Linked DNA regions of Homo sapiens: all the other regions are linked to region 1. Evidence: promoter capture Hi-C in 16 types of primary human blood cells and fetal thymus (Javierre and others, 2016). All regions are on one chromosome and are shown on one strand. Each heading gives the region's core, a stretch centred on a gene start or on the middle of the fragment in contact. The rest is flanking DNA. Distances are from core to core; before and after follow the strand shown.

What was found. The method cuts DNA at HindIII sites, captures the fragments that hold promoters and counts their contacts. A CHiCAGO score of 5 or more calls a contact.
Region 2: a fragment that was not itself captured here is called in contact with the fragment with the promoter of RAD21L1 in region 1 in 1 of 17 cell types (endothelial precursors); the score reaches 7.3 in endothelial precursors.
Region 3: a contact is called between a fragment that was not itself captured here and the fragment with the promoter of RAD21L1 in region 1, in 1 of 17 cell types (naive CD4 T cells). The highest score is 5.5, in naive CD4 T cells.

What each region holds. Positions count from the first base shown.
Region 1 is chr20:1,224,226-1,227,761 of GRCh38, reverse strand. It overlaps RAD21L1 (RAD21 cohesin complex component like 1), which reads right to left and starts at 1,718. Exons shown (of 14, transcript NM_001384355.1): 1 at 1,622-1,718. RefSeq lists a silencer at 1,457-1,506. The HindIII fragment of the contact is 7,037 bases long and covers 213-3,536 here.
Region 2 is chr20:1,490,760-1,494,695 of GRCh38, reverse strand. SIRPB2 (signal regulatory protein beta 2) reads left to right here and starts at 3,276. Exons shown (of 5, transcript NM_001122962.2): 1 at 3,276-3,421. The coding sequence starts at 3,337. The HindIII fragment of the contact is 773 bases long and covers 1,780-2,552 here.
Region 3 is chr20:843,484-847,381 of GRCh38, reverse strand. FAM110A (family with sequence similarity 110 member A) reads right to left here. Exons shown (of 2, transcript NM_001042353.3): 2 at 1,105-2,674. The coding sequence starts at 2,577. The coding sequence ends at 1,690. Among named protein-coding and RNA genes, the nearest start is that of FAM110A, 12 kb to the right of the region's middle. RefSeq lists enhancers at 779-838, 2,067-2,880, 2,986-3,085. The HindIII fragment of the contact is 8,097 bases long and covers 1-3,898 here.

The DNA.
Region 1 (3,536 bases), core at 469-2,968:
TGAAATAAGAACGATAAAAGAAAACCTTCACTTAAAACAAAGAGAAGGAATTAATGCACATTTTTACAAACTGTACTATTCTTGGTAACACCATAGGGCTCTATCACTAAGCTAAAGATGAGAAGGGATGTTATAGCACTTTGGTTGACTTCTAGGGAAGAATCAAATTATTGCTTACATATAAGTAATCTTACACTGCCACTATGGAAGCTTCTTTTTGCTTCTTTTCTACTTAAGATACTGATAAAAGAGAAAACTGAGCCAAGACGAACACAAAGTCGGCGAAAGAATTAAAAACTTAGGTAAACTTCCATCAGTGTCTATTTGTACCGCAAGAATTCAATCATTATGCCCCAACTAAAGGTGACGCAATCCGCCAAACCATGTTCCCCTACGGGGCAGCTGGAGATTTTAATGCATATGGCTTGTACCTTGCGCTGGTTCCACTACTTTCCTTTTTAGTCTGTGTGTTTCGCTCTCTCGGAATAAATTCCTATTTATCTTTTTAAATGGCTCCCAGTGGTGTGAGGTACTTTTAAAATGTACTTTTTGGCCTGGCGCAGTGGCTCACGCCTGTAATCCCAGCACTGTGGGAGGCTGAGGCGGGCGGATCACTTTGATGCCAGGAACTGGAGACCAGCCTGGCCAACATGGTGAAACCCCGTCTCTACTAAAAGTACAAAAAGTAGCCAGGCACGGTGGCGGGCGTCTGTAATCCCAGCTACTTGGGAGGCTGAGGCAGGAGAATCGCTCGAACCCGGGAGACGGAGGCTGCAATGAGCCGCGATCGCCCTACTGCACTCCAGCCTGGGCGACAGAGGGCGACTCCGTCTCAAAAAAATCAAATGTACTTTTTAAGTGATGGACTTCTTAAAAGAGAAAACAAACAAAGAAAAAACCCAAACCCTGAGATTTGCTATTCCTGAGACATTGATTTTCCCGAGCACATATTACCTAACCTTTTTCCCCTCCCCACAAAATACGCACACAAACTCCCCCCGCACCCTCCCGCCCCACGTCCCGGAGGCTTTTTCAGTCTCCAGATTGAACTGACTTCGTGCAACGTGAAGCCACCGGGATGGGGCCACTCCGTGGAAACCGGCCCGCAAAGGGCAGGGTGGCGGCGGTGGCGGGGAGGGAGCGAAGGGAGGGAGGAAGGGGTCGGAAGGGGACCGGGCGGGGACCCTGGGAGAGGGGCGTGGGGAGAGAGGGCTGAGCCGGGCAGGGCGAGACCCTTCCGGGCGTGAGGGAGGGGAAAGCAAAGTGCAGGGGCTGGGAAGAGCTGACGGCCACGCTCAGGGGCAGGGGGACGCCAAAGGCTCCTCCACAGACGACTCCTCAGAGTTCCGGGCCGGGTGCTCACAGAGGGAAACTGAGGCCACAGCGCCCATTTTCTTCCGCGTGCGGGCGAGGAGACCCCGGGTCGCGCCTCCAGCCCCAGCTGGGCTGCGGGCGACGACCTTTCTTCCTCAGGCGGGACCCTCCGGGCTTGGCGCCGCGAGCTAACACGGCGTGAGGCGCCGGCGCCGGGTGCGTGTGGGAATGTGGGTGGCGGCGGCCCCCATCTCCCAGCCCGCCTACAGCACTCGGGGTCCGGCCGGCCTCTCAGGCTGCGCCCTACTTTCAAAGCCTCGTCTGAGGTGTGGCGTGCCAGAGCAGGGGCTGCGAGGAGTCGCCAAGTCAGCTTGGCCGGGTTCTTGGCGCCGCTGGGCGTCTGCAATGCGCGGCAGGCGCGGGGCGGGGAGGGGCGGGGCGTGGAGAAGGCGGGGCAGTGGGCGAGGGCGGGGCGTGCAGGGGACGGGGCGGAGCAGTGGGCGAGGGGCGGGGCGTGCAGGGGACGGGGCGGGGCAGTGGGCGAGGGCGGGGCGTGCAGGGGACGGGGCGGGGCGTGCAGGAGACGGGGCGGGGCAGTGGGCGATGGACGGGACTGACAGGGGATGGGGCGGGGCAGTGGGCGAGGGGCGGGGCGTGCAGGGGATGGAGAGGGACGGGCAGGACATGGGGAGGGGCGTGGAGGGGTATGGACGGGCGGGGCGGGGCAGTGGCTGAGGGACCGGGGGCAGGGGGCGGGGAAGGGCGGGCCAGCGACCGAGGGACTGGGCGCGGCGGCGGCGGCGGCGGCTGGGGGTACGGACAGAGTAGGGCAGTGCGCTAGAGTGGAGAGGACCGGGACTGAGAGGGACGAGGGCGCAGGGCGTTGGTGGGGACAGTGGACGGGGCAGGAGGGATAGAGTCAGACAGTGAGCAAGGCGCACCGGTCCTAGTGCGCAGTCTCCGGCTTTGTCCTGGCGCTCGGACCTGAGACACCTGAGCAGGGGCATGACAGGGATGGGGCCTGGGCCCCATAGTCCTGTTGTGAAAGGTGATCTTTCTGGCTGATCTCTGAACATCCCTATGATGCAGTCCAGTCTCTTCTCTTCCACTTATAGCTGGAGGTCACTGGAGAAATTCTTTAATCCCTTGAACCTCAGATTTTCTCATCTGTAAAGTGAAAATAATAAAAGTACTCGCGCCGTAGGATATTGTAAGAAATAAATAAAATGAACCATGAAAAGAGCCAAGCAATAATAAGTGCTCTACAAATATTAGCTATTATTATTATTGTTATTATTAAAAAGATTATTCACATTGACCTGCCCTTTGGGGACAGCAAATATTTTCCAGCCTGGAATATCACAGTTCTCAGTAGTCAAGGCCAAGTGCTAGAACCTGAGAAAAATCCTGCAAGAGCATCAGGATGCAAGGCTGGTTTCCTCTCTTGAGTTTGATAGTAAATACTAATAAATCTTGGAGCGGCAATGGCATCCAATATAAGGTTATTGATAAGGTTCAGGCTCCTGGCTGGGCATTTTCATGGGTTGTCTCATTGACTCTTCAAACAATCTCACAAAAGTAGTTACTGGTTTTCCCCTTTTGAATAAGGAAAGGGCTGGAGAAAAAATAGCAACCTGTCTAGGGTCACGTGGTTGGGAATTGTAGAGACAGGATTCAAATTGAATTCAAATTGAAGTTTAGCTCCCAATTTCCGACCTCAGGAAATGATGTCACGGCAACCATTCAAGAGGATGTCTGGGAGACACCCTTGGTGCCACCCTCATGTCTACTTCAATGCCAGCCCATCAGCAAGCCCATCACTCCACCTTCAAATATGACTTTCATCTACCCCTTCTCAAGATCTCCACCGACTCCACCCTAGTCTAAGCCACCTCTCTCCTGGAAAAGCTCCAACCTCCTGAGCGGTCTCCTTCCTGTCACTCACCTCCCTAAAGCCCATTCTCTACACCAGGGGTTCCCAACCCCGGGTGGGAACAGGGCCGCACAGCAGGAGGTGAACAGTGGACGAGGGAGCCTCACCGCCTGAGCTTCGCCTCCTGTCACATCAGCCGCGCATTAGATTCTCACAGGAGCGCGAAACCTATTGGGAACTGCACATGCGAGGGATCTAGGTTGCCCGCTCCTCACGAGAATCTCATGACCCCCCGCCCACTCGGCTCGTGGAATAATTGTCTTCCACAAAACTGGTCCCTGGTGCCAAA
Region 2 (3,936 bases), core at 917-3,416, 270 kb before region 1:
CATCGGAAATCCTCACTGCTTTATCTCTCAAGTTCACTGGTAGCTCTTGGAAAATCAGGAATCTGAGAGACTCACAGAAACTGCTGCTAATGATGCCAGCTGCCTGTGCTTTAGAGGTGATTTATAGAAGACAGGCAGCACTGCAAAACCTCACATTTGCATAAATTAAATCCACCAATTCTCACGTATCTGCCCCCTCTTCATGGCTAGAGAAGCAAGCATGCCTCTCCTTTTACCTTCCAAATCTAAGCAAGAACCTCTCCTTGGTTCATTATTCTCTCCTAGAATAATGATGGTAAAGAGTTACAGAAAATGCAGTTCTTAGGCTTTTAGAACCTCCAAAAAAAGAGGAGAGCATAGAAAAAGTGGAGATAGATGCTGATTGCAAAGACACCAGTGTTGCTCTTTTTAAGACTGGTATTTACTTGATTGCTGCTAAGGTTGAACGCTTTCCCTGTGCTTGCTTAGTATGTTTTCCATTTTATGGTAAACAATCAAAAAGCTGTTGTTTTAACAAAGTTCCATTTTTGTAGTGGAAGGAAAAAAAGCTTTATGGGTAGACTTGTGTTCTATATATACCTCGGGTGCTCTTGTTGAGGATAACTTAACTCAGGCTAGTAATAGACACTATAGTTCATGTGATACCCAAGCACACTGACCAGGAGGAATGCCACTGTTCCTAGTTACTGAGCAATTATCGCAAGCCAGTGCTTCACGCGCAATCGCATTTCATGTGTTTTATAGATGACGTGACAGATATAACATTTTTAACTATTTCCTTTTGCATTTCTCCACCTCCCAGCAGTTTAATTCCTTCCCTGGAAGCTTTTTTCCTATTCTAAGCTGGAGTGTGAGACTTGCTGTCTTGAGGAAGGGGCAGGAGGGATTCCATCTAGAACAAAGAAGGCCAGCTGTTAGGAAGAAGACTGAGATTAGGAAAGTCCCTACCAGAAGGAAAAGAAGGGGAACTCCTCCCCTTATGACTTGGTGAGGAAGTAAGAAAAAGAGGGAGAAGACAGGGGTTGAGATGCTAGAGTCCTGCCAACCCCACAGTCCTGAGGTCCAAATGCTGGGGTGGGGTGGGAATGGAGTTTAGGGATTCCTACAGCATAAGGGATCATGGCCTGTCTTCCCAGGGTGTTCATAGTCCACGACATCACAAAGAAACCATATTCAACCTGGCTTCTGAGCACTAGATCAGAAACAGTAAAGGAAATGAATGTCTTCAAAAACTGGTGACTGTGGTTAACCCTAAGGAAAGTAATGTCTGGGAGCCCTATAAATGAGACACTGAGACCTCTGAATTTTGTACCTGTAGATGCCCATGGCAGATAAATCACAAAAATATCCACAATTCTATACCCCCTCTTTGTATCCACACCTTTTGCAATTAGGCTTTGCAGTTCCCTAACAAGAGGCAAAGTCTATTTTCCATTCCTTGAATCTTGTCTGGTCTTGTAACTTGATGTGGCCAAAAGAATATGGCAGAAGTTTCCTTGTACCTTGCACTGTCTCTCAAAACTGCCCCTTTCATGAGAACAAGACTAAGTTAGTGTCCTGGAAGATGAGAGACCACATAGAGGACAGCTGAGGTACCTGGGTTAACAATCAGTCAACCGCAGTAACAAAGCCACCTAGCCAACCTGCAGCTGACCTCAAGTGCATGAACATTCCCAGCCAAAATCTGCTGAGATGAGAAGACCGAACCACCAAATGGAGCCCTGACTGAATTGTCAACCCACAAAATAGTAAATTAACTGAACATTTAGTTTTTAAGCTTCTAAATTTTGGGGTGCTTTGTTATGCAGCAATAGCTAACCAATACAATGCCTTGCCTATTAAAATAAAATTATTTGTAAGTAAAACTTTAGAAAAAAACAATAGCTGAGAAAGAAATCTGCATAGATGAGCAGGTGATTCAGAAATTCCCGTGTAAGAATGACATGGAAAGTACTGAGGGTCTGGTGGAATCATCTAGGCTTGTGGCCCTTTCAAAGAAGTTTCACTATATAGATCTCATTGACAGGAGAACAAGTAGAGGGAGTAATGGAATTGAGCAGGGGTATCAATGCAAGGCCTCAAAAGTCTAGAAAAGACCAGTCACAGACCCAGTGCAAAGTCCTTGGGGACCAGGCCAGACTAACCTCCTCATAGTAGACACCAGACCTCTGGGACCCAGGGGACATACTCAGATCCAAGGCCTGCCACCCTGTTGCTGGAGAATCTTCAGCTTCCTCTGCACCCAGAACCTTCTGAAGCATGAGGGAGGAAGTGAAATAATGAAAGGCTGAGTTGTTCTTGTACTTTTCCCTGAGTTAATTAAAAGACTGAGTTAACCTAAAAGACAATGGTGAAAGCCTATAGAGTGCTTACTCCACCCCACACATGCTACCACATTTTTATTCCTGTTTTACAGATGAGGAAACCGAGGCATAAAGTGGTCAAATGATTGTCCTAAGGTCACACAGCCAGACTGAGTAAAGCCAAGATTTGAACCCAGACAGTGTGGCTAAAGAGATTGCCTGGATTGCATGAATTGGCAAGATTAAGCTTTTCCTTCTTGATAGCCAGCACCAGGAGGCTCCTGAGGAAGTTCAGATCACTTACAGGAAACAAAGATGCCACAAACGCAAATGTTTGCACAATCTGAGTATGTTTCACTTGGACCCCAGGAAACAGAGGCTGAGAGAGTTACACATGATTATACTTTTAGGAATTAGGCCTGTACCCTCCCTGCAGTGCTAAAAGGAGGCCCCCATGGGGCTTGCTTTATAATAAATCCTTCTTCTTAAGCAATGTCACCTCCTCTACTTTCTGCACATCATGAATAATAATGGTTAATATGTTTAGCATTTACATTGTTCTGTGCCCTCACATTATTTCTCATAATCTTACCAAAACTGTTCTGAGGAGGGAACTGCCGTTGTTCCTACGCTGCAGATGAAGAAACAAAAGGCTCAGAAATGGGAAGTGACTTTGAAATCTTGCACAGCCAAGAAGAGGAAGATCCAATGTTTGCTCCAAATTCCACCCGATTCTGGAGTGCGTCCTATGACCTCAGTGCCCACCTCCCTCCCGGGCACCTAGGATGGAGCCTATGGCAAGGTTTTAGCACAGTGACTACAGGAATCACAGCCCAGACACAAAAGCAGGAAACCCTTTGACCGGGCTCCTTCCTATTGCACCAACAGCCTTGTGTTGCTGCAATGAAAACACTTCCCCAAGCAGCTGTGGCCAAGAGACGCAGAAACTGCCTTGTCCACGGGCCCCGCCTCAGACTCCAACACTCACAAGAGAGCAGAGGAGCCCCAAGTCTTGGGGACCACAGAAGATGCCATGTGCTCCACGATGTCGGCCCCCACCTGCCTGGCCCACTTGCCTCCCTGCTTCCTGCTGCTGGCACTGGTCCTTGTCCCCTCAGGTAAGTGGGGTCTAGGATAGAACAGGGTCCACCCCCGGCTGGTCAGTCCCTAGAGGGGCACTAAGTGCTCTGCCATGCCTGAAGAAGCTTGACCCCATGAAGATAGAGTAAAGAGGGGTCCACTGAAAATTTGCCTGACTCCGGCAGAGGGCACCCCCAGTGTCCCAAGAAGCAGCGTAGTGAAGTGATAAGCTCCCAGGCTCTGCGCTCACACCCACTGGCTTCCAGCTTGATTGCTCCTATGCCCACGTCAGATGCTGCAGCTCTTTTAGCCCCAGGAGCCTCTTCTACAAAACAGGGACGCTCATGGGACCTTTCTCTAGGGCTACTGTGAGTATTAAATAGAAAAGTGGTGAGGCTCAGCCCTGGGCCGGCTGCATAGTTTATGAGACCCACTGCAAAATGAAAACTGCGGTCTTTTGTTCAAAAAGTATTGAGCAACACAGCAGAGCAGTAAACCAAGCATGGGCTCCTTCTAAGCACAGGGCCCTGTGCGACTACATAGATGGCACAGC
Region 3 (3,898 bases), core at 538-3,037, 380 kb after region 1:
TCTCCCCACCAGTATCATGAGCTCCAGTCTCATGAGCTGGAACACCATCTTCTTCTAGAACCCAATTTTCCCTTCCTTCCCCAAACTGCCCAGGCCCATCCCAGGCCCCTGGGGGCTAGTTGTAGACAGGCAGACAGACAGAGAGATGGACAGCTGGGCTGATGTGGATGTTTGTCAACAGTCCAACGGAAATCTCCTCTTTATGCTTAAAATAAAACCTACATCAAACCTGTCACCAGGGCCCCCATTAGAGCTTCCTGTTTCTGAGTGCTGCAGCCAAGGCAGCCTGTGAAAGGAAGCGCCACCCACCCCCTCTCCACGCCCACCGTGGGGCACCAGAGAGGCCACCCCCGCTTTCGCCCTTTGTAGGCCCAGCTCTAGCCCTAGCTGCTCCACTAGCCAAGGTGGGGTGTCCTAGTAGGTAACTGACCTGGAGGGAGACTGGAAGAAGCTGAGGCCTCGAAGCCCAGTGCCAGCCCCTTCCTTCCCCTCTCCCCAGGTATTGGAATATAGCATGAAGGGCCCAGAATGCACCAGTGCCCCAACCCAAGGAGGACTGTGCTGCCTAACTCTCCCACTGAGGCCCAGAGGGAAACTGGCTTGTCCAAGATCGCCAGGGAGGCCACTCATTTTGTGCCGTCCACCCCAAGTCTCTCTTCCTCCAAAACTCCCACTTCTCATCCTCACTCTATGGTCTGTGTGACCTCAAGTTCAGGATTTGCCCTCTCCGAGCTTCCTGCCCCCTTGGGAACTGGGCAGGGCTTGGATGGAACACTCCTGGTTGGGGAGAGTCTATGCACCCCATCGGCCTTTCCCCTGCAGGCTCCCTTTCTGGTGCAGGGGAAAGACCCCATTCCTACTCCCAGCTCTATTCCAGCTCACTCATGGCTGGATCTCAGTTTCCTCCTCGATGAGGCAGGCCTGCTAGCCTTCCAGGAGAGTTATGAGAACCCACCACGGGGACATGTCTCCAGCCAGGCCAGCCGCTATCATCATGCCCCACCACTAGACCTCGGGGTGAACAATTACTGTTTTGATGGCCCCACCCCAAGACTTCTCTCACCCTTTCTCTTGTGAACACAGAAGAGTCTGAAGGCCCAGCCCTTGAGAAACAAGCATTTGTGTTTATTAACCAAGGAGAGGGAAGTCAAAGCAATGCAGACTCCTAACCAGTCCCTCCTATAGTCTGCCCACCTAGGCCAGCTGCCAAGGACTAGGAAGAGCAGTGGATAGGCCCCTCCCCACTGCCCCGACCCCAGGGTGAGTTCTGCTGGGTAAGGAAGAGGAAGTCAGCAAAGGACAGAGGCCAAGGAAGGAAGGAGGAAACAGAGCCGCTGGGGAGACAGGATTGAGGAGATCCCTTGGCCCCTCACTCACAGTGGGGAGGGCAAAGCACCGCAAATGCAGCCCCACAAGAGGAACTAAGCAGGAGTACACTCATGTCAAAAACCTTGTATTGGGGGAGGGGAGGAGGGGGTTCTCAGGTGTCCAAAGCCAAGAACAAAACCCTTGGAGAGTCAGTCCTTGCCCAACAATGCTGGTCCAGCCTCTAAGCCTTTGCCTCCATACCAAGTTCACAACAGGGTGGAGCCTCTGACACGGCCGTCTAGAGAATGGATGCAAGAGAGGTCCAGGGACCACTTGCCTCTGTAAGATCCGTCCTGTGGCGAATTCCAGGCCCAGTGGCGCCTAGCCTTCAGCTGCTGGGCTCTCCCGAGCCTGCCTTAGCCCATACAACCACTTGATCACGCGGGCATTGCGCTCCACCACCGACACGCCATAGGGAACGCGCTCCCGGGCCCGCTCCTCAACAGTCACCGAGCTGCGGCGGGAGCAGCCCCCTTCAGAGCTGCCCGGCCCAGCACTGGGCCCTGCCAGGGACACGATATCCGAGCTGGCCCGTGCCAGGTGGGCCACACCCAACCCTCTCGCCTCCTCCGGGTCCAGGCCGCAGAAGTTAAAAAAGCGCTCGAGATCAGCGGCTGCCCTAGAAAAGCGCTCGCTCAAGTCCGACTTGGAGCGTTGCAAACCCGGCGGCCGGGCTGGGCTGGAGGCGGCGGCAGGGCCGGGTGATGGGCAGGGCCGGGCAGGCGAGGCGGGCAGGGGGCGGACGTCCACCCGGCGGACCGCAGAGGTACTGGGCGGCGGTCGCGGAGGGGTGGCTGGGGGAGGACGGCCGGCTCCCTCGGCCCGTCCAGGAGTGCGGCTGGCCTCGGCAGGGGACACGGGGCTGTCACACAAGTCGATGAGGCTGCTGAGGATGTCCAGGTCCAGCTGGGGCCGTCGGCAGGGGCCAGGCAGGGCTCGGCGGCTGGGCGTGAGCACTGTGCGGCGAGTCTCAGGGCTAAAGAGCGGCTGTTTGGACAGCAGGGGCTGCACAGGCTCCTGGCGGGTGTTGGCCACGTGCAGGCTCTTGACGTACTTGGCCTTGTCGGCCTCCAGGCGCTCCACAGCGCTCGGTTTCCGGGCTCCACCATCTGCCGGCCCCCGTAGCAGGTAGCCAGGGACCCTGGTCCGCAGGCGGCAAGGTAGGGCGGGGGCGGACGGGGCTCCGGGGCTCAGCGTGTGCACAGGCATGGCTGCTGCATATCCCGAGGGCTTTAGTCTGCGGAGACCGGAGAGATGAGGAGCCAGAGATCCGGGCAGAAAGTAGGCAGCTGGACACCGGCCACTGCTGCAGGGAAGGAGAGAGAAAAAAAAAAAAAAGCCGAGCGCGCTCAGACAAAGAGGCTCAGCCGCGGCTGAGAGGATAAGACGCCCTCCCTATTATAAGGTAGAGACCACGCCCCTCCACAAGGAGCCAATCAGCAGGCACAAGGCAGCAGCTGCGGGGCCTCAGGCCCCACCCACACCCCCTCCCTCCTGCCCCGGGAGAACCAGGCCCAGCTGAGACCAAGAGAGGAAAAAAGGTGCTAGAGAAAAAAGACCTGGGCGACCTGGGCAACCTGAGCAGAAAAGACAGGGCAAGGCACGCGCTAAAGGGAGCAAGGGAGGCTCCAGGCTCTGTGCTACGCACCAGTCAACTCAACCTCAGGTCCTCTCAACAGCCCCGTTTTTTGGATGGAGAAACTGAAGCCCAGAGAGGCAAACAACTTGCTTAAGTTAACCCAGCGAGTAGGTGGCTCTGCCCCTGACCACCAAAAAGGAAGGTGCTGGCACCGGGGCGTAGGGTTAAATGACCAAGAAAAAGGGCTCCAGCCCCACACCCCACCTGGACTCCCCACAGGGAGCCTGGTACCACCTCTACCCCTCACCCATCCAGGCAGGAAGCTGCCCTGTGCCATCCACCCGCCTAGACATGCCAGGCCCCAGGCAAAGGGCAGAGCTTATAGGGAAGGAGCAAAGAAAATCTCCACCCGCGCCCCAGTGGAGTCCAGACATCCGTCAGCTTCCTGCATGGAACTGGATGGCCCACGGTGATCCACAAATGCCTGTCACGTGGAAACATCAGCCCTGAGCTATGCTGTGCTGAGAGAAGCTGGAAATGTCCAAAATCACACAGCCCTGCATGGAGGCATCCGGCAGACCCTCGATCTGCCTGCAGCCATGGAATGGGTACTCACCTGGGAGGAGGGCATACACCTGGATGCACAAGTGTCTACGTGGTCACCCAAGTGTCAGGACCTGATGCCCCAGACATCAAGCCAACCCTGACCCTGTTTCCAAGGAAGGGCCAAGCCCACAGAGTCACCCCACAAGGCCCCTTGGAGATGGGACAGAAGAAAACCCACATACCAAGTCCCAAACATTCTCATCTGTAAAATGGAGGGGGCGGGTACTTAATCTGGGTGTTCCCCAAGAAGGCTTACAGTTCAAGCCATCTAGACCCGTGCTGTCCAGCTCAATAGCCAGCAGCCACATGTGGCTATTCAACCTTAACTTTAAATTTAAATGAAAT